Linked DNA regions of Homo sapiens: region 1 is linked to region 2. Evidence: promoter capture Hi-C in human tissues and cell types (Jung and others, 2019). All regions are on one chromosome and are shown on one strand. Each heading gives the region's core, a stretch centred on a gene start or on the middle of the fragment in contact. The rest is flanking DNA. Distances are from core to core; before and after follow the strand shown. Region 1 overlaps MYO18B (myosin XVIIIB). Region 2 holds the start of SEZ6L (seizure related 6 homolog like).

Region 1 (4,625 bases), core at 1,662-4,161, 390 kb before region 2:
GGAGGCTGAGGCAGGAGAATAGCGTGAAGCTGGGAGGCGGAGCTTGCAGTGAGCCGAGATCACGCCACCGCACTCCAGCCTGGGCAACAGAGCGAGACTCCGTCTCAAAAAAAAAAAAAAAAGAGTGGATCAGAGTGGGGCACCCCAATGGGGCTTCTGGGTAGCTGCACTTCAGGCATGTGCAGATGTACCCAAAGCACTGACTGGGTGCCCCTCTTCTCTCCCTGCAGACAATGCTTTTGGAGAAGAGCCGCGTGGCACGGCAGCCGGAAGGGGAAAGTAACTTCCTGGTTTTCTCCCAGATGCTGGCTGGATTGGACTTGGATCTCAGGTGAGCACTTGGGGCAGGAAGAGACAGCTGAGGGCAGTGCGACAAAGGGCACATGTTCTTTGGGGGCCCAGCCTTAGCTTCTGCCCAGCACTGAGAGGCCGTGGGACCCAGGGATTAGGAACATGGCGTCCGATTCCAGCTGTCTGGGTACACGCAGCTCATGGGCTGGGTGACTTTGGTCACATGTCATCCACCCTGAGCCGCGGTTTCTTCCTTTGTAATGTGGAAACAACACCTTGCATAGACCTTATAGGATTAAGAGAGATAATTTACATTCAGCTCTTTATAGGTCACATGTCATCCACCCTGAGCCTCGGTTTCTTCCTTTGTAATGTGGAAACAACACCTTGCATAGACCTTATAGGATTAAGAGAGATAATTTACATTCAGCTCTTTATAAATGCTGGGAGTCAAGGCTGTCTGCTGTGATAGTGGCATGTCAGTACTGGCCCTGGCAGCGGTATGGGAAGAGGGAGAGGGACAGCAGACCCCCATGTCTTCCAGAAGTTTCTAAACTTTTGTGGGAGCTTTGGGTGTATGGTAGGGTATGCCTACATGAGGTTCCTCAGGATGGACCTGGAGCTGAGTGGAGCAGTGAGCTGGGTAGTCAGGCAAGCCTCATCTTGGAGGGCCTCCTGGAGGAGGTGGCCTAAAAAGCCATCTCTGCCCTTCCCCAAATCTACAGGGCATCCTTAGGCATGTGGCTCATGTGGCTTCCTCTCCCAGAGCCTTGGTTTCCTCCTCTGTTGGATGGATGGGCATGGTCCTAGTGAAGTGTCGGGGAGAGGAAAAAGTGGGTTTTCCCACATGAGGGGTGATAATTTGTGGTTACTGTGCTCTAACCTCACCATTGTTTGTTCCCCAACCTTCCCTCCCCATCTGAAGGACAGCCTCAACCTGTCTGGAGTGTCCTGGCTAAGGCTGGAGGGACAGCTGTAACCTGCAGAGAGAAGGCAGAGTAGAGAGGGAACTCCCAGTTTTTAGAGTGATTGTAACTGAGCAGCAGGGAAACTTCTAGAAGATCTTGAGAATCTGTAGAAGAACTTGGAGTGGGGTGGTATAGCAGAGTGACAGGTACCACAGACTCGAGGACAAGGCTGTGTGGATTTGTATGTTGGCTTCTCCACTTGTTGGCTGTGTGACCTTGAGCTAATGACTTCACCTCTCTGAGCCTGACTTTCCTTATCTACAAAAATAGATGTGACTGTATCCCAGTGTTGTGGTGAGGATTAAAATATGATCAGGCAGACAATACTTCTTAAAATAGTGCCCGGACATAGCAAATGCTTTGTGTGTGTGTGTTCTTGTTTTTGGAGGATTTGATCTGCCTTGATACCCCTGACAGGCCCTGACCAGGCCCTGACCAGGTCATCCAAAGAAATGACTTTGGATTCAGAGAGACATGGGTTTGATCTGGGCTTTGCCCCACATGGGCTTCTCTGAGCCTTGGTTTCTCCTCCTGTAAAATGGGTTCCTACTAGTGCCAACCCCGTAGGCATTTAAATGAGATCGCATGTCAAGGCAGCAGGGGCCATGTGCGGTGCATAGTAATGGTGTAATGTGGGAAGGAGTAGGTAGGTGGGCCCTGAACATAGGAATCCCACTTTCAGCCCCGTGGCCTCACCTCTTGGGACCTCCATTTTCTCACCTCTCAGAACATCTCTCAGACACACACATCACCCTTGTTCCAGCCCTGGAGTTCCACACTGGGGCTCTCTCTTCTGTACCCCATGGGTGGGGCTTGGCTCTGGGGATAGAAGCATTGCCTCCTGGAGAGGGGGATTTGGAGGCTTACCCTGGGGTGGGCCCAGGAAGGATGAGGCTCAACTGTGGCTAGCAGAGGATGCCAGACGTTCATTCCAAGCCAGGCCTAGGCCAGGGGCCCTCCATGCTGGTGGCATCCTTATTGAGTTTGGCATCCTTAGGAGCTGGGCCAAAGCTGCCTCTGAGAGGAAGAGGTGGCCCAGATGAGTTTCAGGGACCCTAAGAGAGTGAGTAAAGTGCTTGGAGCAACTCAGCCCCCTCAGGGAGTCATTGTCATTCTGAAGCCTCATTGGTGATCCCCCAATTACTTCCCTTTCTCTACCTCTGCTGCTGCCAACTTGGTCCGTCACCCATATGGAAGCTTCCAAAGGTCAAAAACGGGTTCTCACTTGCACAAATGTCCTTTCTCCCATGCACTCATGTGGGAAACTCCTATTCATCCTTCAAAACCCTACTCCAGATCCCTTTTTTAGAGGAGCACTGCCTGATTCTTGCTCCTCAGTTTCTCCTTTATACTGTTTTGGTGCCTGGTATGTGCTTCTGGTTCAAAAACCTGCCAGCGCAGTCTCCCTTCCTCACCAGATGGACTGGGAGATCTTTGAATTGGGGCCCTGTCATTGTTCTTTCTGCTTTCCCAGTACCTAGCCCAGGGCTTGGCACCAGGTAGATGCTTCTTAATTATTTGTCAGATTTAATTTCCAGTGAATGGAAGAGAGTGTGAGGAAAACAGAGCACTTACTCCATGCCAGCCTGGCAGTGTGAGTTTATGTATAATATCTCATTTAATCCTGGGAGGCAAGTAGAGTAGGGGGCCCATTTTACAGATAAGAAAAAGTGAGTTGCAGAGAAGAGAATTACCTTGTCTGCCACATGGCAGCACTGGGGTTGGACTTGAAGCCTAGCTGGTAAGACTCCTTCAAAGTCACGAGGCAGAGAGGGGTGTGGGGTCTGTAGAGAATCCAGGGAGAGGACACTGAAGGCCTCAGAACCAGACAAGCTGGCTGGAGACTGATGAGTAATCCCCACTTTCCAGGAACCAATTTGAACCAACGTGGGATTGGGGATCCTAGGCTGGGCTCTACAATGCTTTTGTGAGTAGAGAGTGTGATTCGAAGGGGCAGGGGGCATAGCTGTGCCCACCCCGCCTTTGGCTTGCATTCCTCAAGCCTGCAAAAGTGGGTGGCCCATCTGCTGGTCTCACTCTCGAGGAACCTGCAGGTTGAACACGGGAAGGAGCCTTAAACATTGTGTTGCTTCATAAAGTGCAGACTGAGGCCGGGAGAGGTGCACGTGGCAGGATAGCGCGGAGTCTGGGCTCGAGGGGCCAACAGACCTCAGCTCAGCTTCTGGTTGCATGCTTGCTAGCTGTGAAGTCTTGGGGCAGGTACCCACTCTCAGTGCCTCTGTTTTGTCAACTGTAAAATGGAAATAATATTTGTACCCATGGAGTGGGGCTGTCATGAGTCATCTTAGGACTTAGCATGCAGTAAGGGCTCGTTCATGTTGACTGTTTTAATATTATCCTTGAGTGAGGTCGCTCAGCTGATTAGAAGATCTGGGGTTAGTCCCTGCTCTCCTGATTTTCCTCTACAACCCTTTCTCCTGGGATTTCCTGGCCTTTAGGAAGGGCCAAGTGAGGGCTGTGCGTGAGGAATATTTGGGAGATTGAAGATATCCCAGGGCAGAGTTAGTGGGGCCAAGGCCAGGGACAGGGACAGCCCCTGGGGTGTCCGGGCAGTTGTGTGGAGCCTCACACTGTGACGACCACCTGCCCTGCCAGGGCTGGTGTGGACAGCCCCCCTGACTCCTGGTTCCTTCTGTGCTTCCAGGACGGAGCTGAACCTGCACCAGATGGCAGATAGCAGCTCCTTTGGCATGGGCGTGTGGTCCAAGGTAAGGAGGAGGTCCCTCACGGGTGGGATGTGAGTCTGTGTCTGGGGCTAGATGGGAGGGTGATGAGTCGCCGTGCAACTTGTCTCTTTTGGTACTGGGGTTCATAGTTGGCAAGGGTTGGTCATGTGGAAGAGTTGGCACTGCCTTTGTAGGGTCTCGGCTTATTGGGTAAAGAAGACTCAGACAAATAAAGGAAACCAGACATAGTATACGTAGAGGTAGGATTAGGGCCCTGGAATCAGTCTAGTTCAAGCCCCAGCTCTGACACTTGTTACGTAGGTGAACCTCAGGCATGGACCTTAACCTCCTGGTAGGTCTGTCTCTTCTTCAGTACAGTAATGATAGTAGCAGTATCTGCCTCATAGGGTTGTTGTGAGGGTGAAATGACATGATGTGTATAACGTGCTTAGAACAGGGCTTGGCCTAAATCAATCAATAGGGTGCTCTTTGTCAGTACTAGTGGTGGTTAACTTGGGTAGGGGCACTCAGCGATGGTTTCCTGATGAATATAGTCTATGAGTGGGGCTGAGAGTTAGGTATTTCATTGCTTAAAAAAGCAAATGGTTCACTGGTTTGATATTTTATTATTCAATTATTTTAACCATTGTTTTCTCCCTTCTCTCGCAAATACCTTCAT
Region 2 (5,315 bases), core at 1,727-4,226:
TCTGCAAACTGTTCTAGTCCCTTTCAGAATTCTATTTCTATTATGCTATTTCTTCTTCCAAAAATAGTCTTGATACTGCTCCTAAATAATCACTTTATGTTCCCAACATCACAATCTCAGATAATCAGGTCTGTGTCTCATTTCCTCAAGACTTTTCTCTGTGCCTTGTTTTAGCCAGCAAATGGAATGAGTAAATCACGGTCCATATGTTCAATGGGTTAATGGTTTACAGTGTCACTTCTTCCACATAAGACACCTGCATGCAAGCAATGATCTAGAAGTTCAATGTACTTACCAAAGTGAGTAACCCCATTGATGGACTTTTAGTGATGTGGTCCTTCTGGTAGTGATGAGAGGTTGAAGCTTCAGCAGGTAGCAACCAAATCATAGCACAGAGGCAGCCACCAAATTTCTGGGAAGTAGGCTGTGAAGGTGAAATGGGTTCTGGCTCTGTAGTCAGGGCTGCCCTTGAATCTGCCAAATCCCACCGCTTCCTGACTGAGTGACCTTGGCTGGGTTGGGACCCCCCATAAAAAATCAGATACTTATCTTTCAGATGGCAATAACCACACCTCGTTTTCAGGAAGATTATGAAATTGAAATGAGAGACCATGCTCGGTGTGGGACAGCACCTGGCAAACAGTGGATTCTTTACACAATAGTTTCCTTCTCAGTTGGGTTGTTTGGTTTTTTTCCTGTAAATTTGTTTAAGTTCCTTATAGATGCTGGATATTAGACTTTTGCAGATGCATAGTTTGTAAAATTTTTCTCCCATTCTGTAGGTTGTCTGACATTACTGGGTATATACCCAAAGGAATATAAATTGTTCTATTATAAAGACACATGCCCATGTATGTTCATTGCAGCACTATTCACAAGAGCAAAGACATGGAATCAACCTAAATGCTCATCAATGAATGAGCATATATACGGTACATATACACCATGGAATACTATGCAGTCATAAAAAAGAATGAGATCATGTTCTTTGCAAAAACATGAATGGAGCTGGAGACCATTATCCTTAGCACACTAATGCAGGAACAGAAAACCAAATATCACAAGTTCTCACTTATAGGTGGGAGCTAAATGATGAGAGCACACAGACACATAGAGGGGAACAACACACACAGAGGCCTACCAGAGGGTGGAAGGCAGGAGGAGGGAGAGGATCAGAAAAAAATTACTATTGAGTACCAGGCTTAATACCTGGTTGGTGAAATCATCTGTACAACAAACTCCCATGACACAAGTTTGCACACATAACAAACCTGCACAAGTACCCCTGAACCTAGGAATTAAAAATAGTTTCCTTGCCTCCAAGTATGGAGCTAAACTACCTCTTCGTTTTTCTCTCGCTCGCTTTCTTCCCTTTCCCCTCCTCCTCCATCTTCCTTGCTTCTTTAGGTTTCCATTGAACAAGTCTCACTGAGCACCCGCTGCATGCCTGCATTATACTATACAGAGCCTGAGCGTATAGCCACAAACAGGCAAGGTCATTCCACAGAGAGCTGGCAGCCTCATACAGTAAAGCATGGAGTGCTTCATCTTCTCCAAAGGAGAAATCAGCACTCCTGCATCCCTGCCTCAGCCACCTTCTTTATAAAAGCCAGTTGGGTTTACTGCCAGGAATGGAAACCTCTTGCAGCTGAAGATAGGATTTTATGGGGGGGCTCTCTGTCCCCCAAAGCCTGAGGCAGGTCTGGGCCTATAGTCAGTGGCCTGTAAAAGAGCATTGTTTGAGTGAGTAAATGGGGAAGCTCTGGGTGTGGAGCGTCTTCTGAAACCCTGGGCCAGAGTGCTTCTCCTTCCCTCCTCCATCCAGTGTTCACCTCCCCCACCCATTCTTTCTAGGGACTCCCGGCTCCACCACGCTGCTAAAGACATATTCCTCCCCCTGTTGCTGCCTGCAACCTTCTCTCCATCTGCTCCCTCTGCCTGTTCAGGCTGCAGTGTGTAGATAGTATGGCAAGGTAGGGTAGGGGGAGGAGGACAGCTTCTAAATTGGGTGAGAGGCCTGTAAAGCCTGACCGGTCTGCCAAGGCTACGCAGGGAGAGACAGTCAGTCTCCAGGACTGTGCATAAGCTTGTCCCCACCTAGCTCTCTGCCAATGTCTGTCCCCAAGTATCTGTTTATCTCCCTCATTGATTGTCCCTCACTACCTCTATTTGTGGAGAAAAGACTTTGCTTGAGAATCAGGCCTGGGCAAGAATGCTGCAGAGGTGGGCCTTGTAGTCCTGCTCAGATAGGGAAGCGGGTACAGGAAGAGGCAAGCGGCTGACCTGAGAGGAAGCCTCGCAGCGCTAGTGCCCTGCCGGCAGTGGGGTTATGGGAGACAGGGCTCAGATTAAAAAGTGGAGGTGGATCTTAATTTAGAGTTCGTGATTGGGCTTCAGAGGGGTCCAGACCCCCTCGTGTTAGATGCACGATTTTGTGGCTATGTGTAGTGTTCTAGTAGATTCACAGCTGTCACCAGATCCACAGAGTTACAGACTTTCTAGGTTATGGGGACTCACTTTGGAAGCAGTGAGGCCCTGGCGGGGAAGCAGGCTGGCTGGATCCCAGAGGGCTCTGGAAAGAACTGGAACTGGGATGTATCTGGAAGGCTGGGCAGGCAATGGAAAGCTCCGGGCTGCTCATAAGCTCGGTTTCCAGGGCTCCATCTCACCGTCTGGAAAATGGTCCGGGTGCTCTCCAGCCTGGCCTGGCCAGGCAGAGCTGCTGGGAGCGTCAGCAGGGAGAGAAAACGCTCGGCTCCCAGGACGCAAGGGGAATTGGCGTTAAACTTTGCAGGGCCGACGGGCCGGCGGCCAGAGGAGGCGGCTGGCACCCCCGGCGCCGCCGCGGCCCCTCCAGCTCACTGCCCGCTCGCCCGCCCCCTCCCTCCCTGCACTCGCTCGGCACAGACTCGGCCCCAGCCCCCTCCCTCCTCCCGCTCGCTCCACGCTCGTTCGCTCGCTCGCCGGCTCCTCCTCACTCGCCCGCCCGCGCCCGGCGCAGCTCGGCCAGAGCGACCGCGGGGCTGAGCGCGCGTCCGCCCAGGGGGCTCCGGAAGCTGCCCCGGCCCGCGGCCTCCTCCCTCGCTCCCGCTTCCCCTTTCTCGCTCACCGCCGCCCTCCTTCCCCAGCTCCCTCGCCGTCCGCCCGCCCCACAGCCAGCGGCTCCGCGCCCCCTGCAGCCACGATGCCCGCGGCCCGGCCGCCCGCCGCGGGACTCCGCGGGATCTCGCTGTTCCTCGCTCTGCTCCTGGGGAGCCCGGCGGCAGCGCTGGAGCGAGGTAAGCGCCCCGAGGGGCGGGGCGGGCAGGGGGCAAAGTTGCCGGGAGAGCGGGGCAGCCAGGGGTCGGGGCTGACCAGGGCGACTCAGGCACCACCCGCCGGGATGGGAAGCGGTGGTGGCTGTCCAAAATCGGGGCTAGGAACCGCACGTCCCCTTGGCCCGGGCTGATGGGAGTGTGGAGGCGGGGATGTGTTGAAGGACTCGGGCGCTTCCCTGCTTCGGCTGCGGGCTCCCTTTCGGTCTTCCCCGGCTGCGGGGCTGATTCTCCTTTGCAGCCAAAGAGGTTCTCCTTGGAGTGGGGTCGCCTCCAAACCCCAAATTCCCGGCGCTTCTCTGCAACCGCACCCGGGGCTAGGTGCCAGATAATTATCTTCCTCTCCGGGAGAGGACAGGAAGGGGGGTGAGAAGCTGACCCACCCTGCAACTGAGGACTAGACTCAAACAGTGCATTTGCCGCTCCCCCCGACACCACAGAAACCCTTGACTCCTTTGGTTCAGGCTACCCCGAGGGTCTGTGTTCCTGGATCGATCTCAGCCAAGCGTCAGGATACCGGACTTGGGTGTGGCTTTCGCTAGAGGCCGGTGGAGGGGGCTGAGGGCTCTGAGAACTTGGTAGGGGAGGGAGAAGAGATGTTAGTTAGCAGTTGGGAACCTGAACGGGCTCCCCTCTACTCTCTCCCCTACTGCCTAGCATCTCTGATCACTGTTAGGAATGGGGGGTGAGGGGTGTTAGTTTCATCTACCACGTGTTTGTTGAAGGGGAAGAGGGGCCCAAATTTAGCAGAGAATGACAGCTCCTCTTTCTCAGACCTGGAACCATACCCTCTCTCCACCCCGGTAAGGTACCCCAGGAAAAGTTATGGGTGGGGGAGAGGGCCAGATAGAGAGAGGGGTGCAACGCCTAACTCACCCAAAGCTAACCCTCAGAGCTTCGGGGGTTTTCTCAGGCACCTAGGAGACCCGAAAATCAATGGGAGGGTTAGTTGGCCACAGGACCCGGCCTTCTTGCAAGGTCCCAGAAATGCGCTCCTCACGTGTAAAAAAGCAGACAGCTGCAGGGTCTGCCCAGGCTGAAGACAGAGGGAGCGCAGGCACTATGCTTATCTGGGGCTCCGCCTCTGTCATTTGCACCGTCTTGACTCGGAGTTGGGGGACAGGCGGTGTTCTTCTCCGGGGAGTTCTGGACCCCCAGCGCGCGCACCTGCTTTCAGCACCAAAGGCCCTGGACAGCTCTCAGCTCCATGGGCCCTGGCTCTGGGTCCCTTTCCCTTCAACCCTTCCCGGTGGCCTGGAGTGCCCCCCTCAGCATAAATCAGGCATTTTATCCCCCATCTCCCCGTCTTTTTAAATGTAGAGCCCAGAGTGCAGAGCAAAGGAAATTGTTCATCACCTTTTGTTTAACAAAGCATATCATTGAAGAACCCCCACCCCTTTTTTATGGGGCAATAATGTCCACAATTTACACCAGGTCTGGACAGTTTCTCTGGGAAAGATAGGGAAAGAGATTTGGTTTAAACAAATCGTTTCCACCACAGCATGGCCTTTCTTAATTAGCTGTCTCTTTCTAACAATGGCTTGGTGGCCTTGAACTGAGTCCAGCTCTCCCTCCCCCACCCCCTTTTGAATCTGTGTTGTGACTAACACACATATAAAAAGAACCTGAATCTACCCAGCAGCTTACTGGATTTTCTAAAGCAGTTCTACCTCTGAGAACTCCACTCTCCAATACACCACCTTGCAGGGAAAAAAAAATTGTCTTAATGGCACGTATTGAATTGTCATCTAAGACAAGGATTTCCTATTCTGTTTCCTTCACGGGCTGCAAACACATTGTAAGAGCAGGGGGAGACATGTGTGTGTTTTAATTTTTAAGACATTTCATACTATTTTTCCAACTGCTCAACACCATGGCTAGCCAGCATATTTTTTAAATTGACTTCAGGTCACCACCAAATTAAAGTCAATTGATGTGCTACTTCAGAAAGCTCATTAATAAGTGTGTGGTTCTGACTCTGAGTCATAAGGAGGGAGTGAT

The links. Contacts are between HindIII fragments. The study calls those that stand out against the background at their distance.
Region 1: a contact is called between a fragment that was not itself captured here and the fragment with the promoter of SEZ6L in region 2, in 3 of the 25 tissues and cell types used here (H1 embryonic stem cells, dorsolateral prefrontal cortex and mesendoderm cells).

What each region holds. Positions count from the first base shown.
Region 1 is chr22:25,781,504-25,786,128 of GRCh38, forward strand. It overlaps MYO18B (myosin XVIIIB), which reads left to right. Exons shown (of 44, transcript NM_032608.7): 10 at 231-331; 11 at 3,925-3,988. Among named protein-coding and RNA genes, the nearest start is that of MYO18B, 42 kb to the left of the region's middle. The HindIII fragment of the contact is 6,683 bases long and covers 1-4,625 here.
Region 2 is chr22:26,166,486-26,171,800 of GRCh38, forward strand. SEZ6L (seizure related 6 homolog like) reads left to right here and starts at 2,977. Exons shown (of 17, transcript NM_021115.5): 1 at 2,977-3,278. The coding sequence starts at 3,185. LOC105372971 (a long non-coding RNA gene) reads right to left here and starts at 2,749. Exons shown (of 6, transcript NR_188586.1): 1 at 2,518-2,749; 2 at 296-444. RefSeq lists a silencer at 3,000-3,129 and an enhancer at 3,956-4,895. The HindIII fragment of the contact is 7,592 bases long and covers 1,225-5,315 here.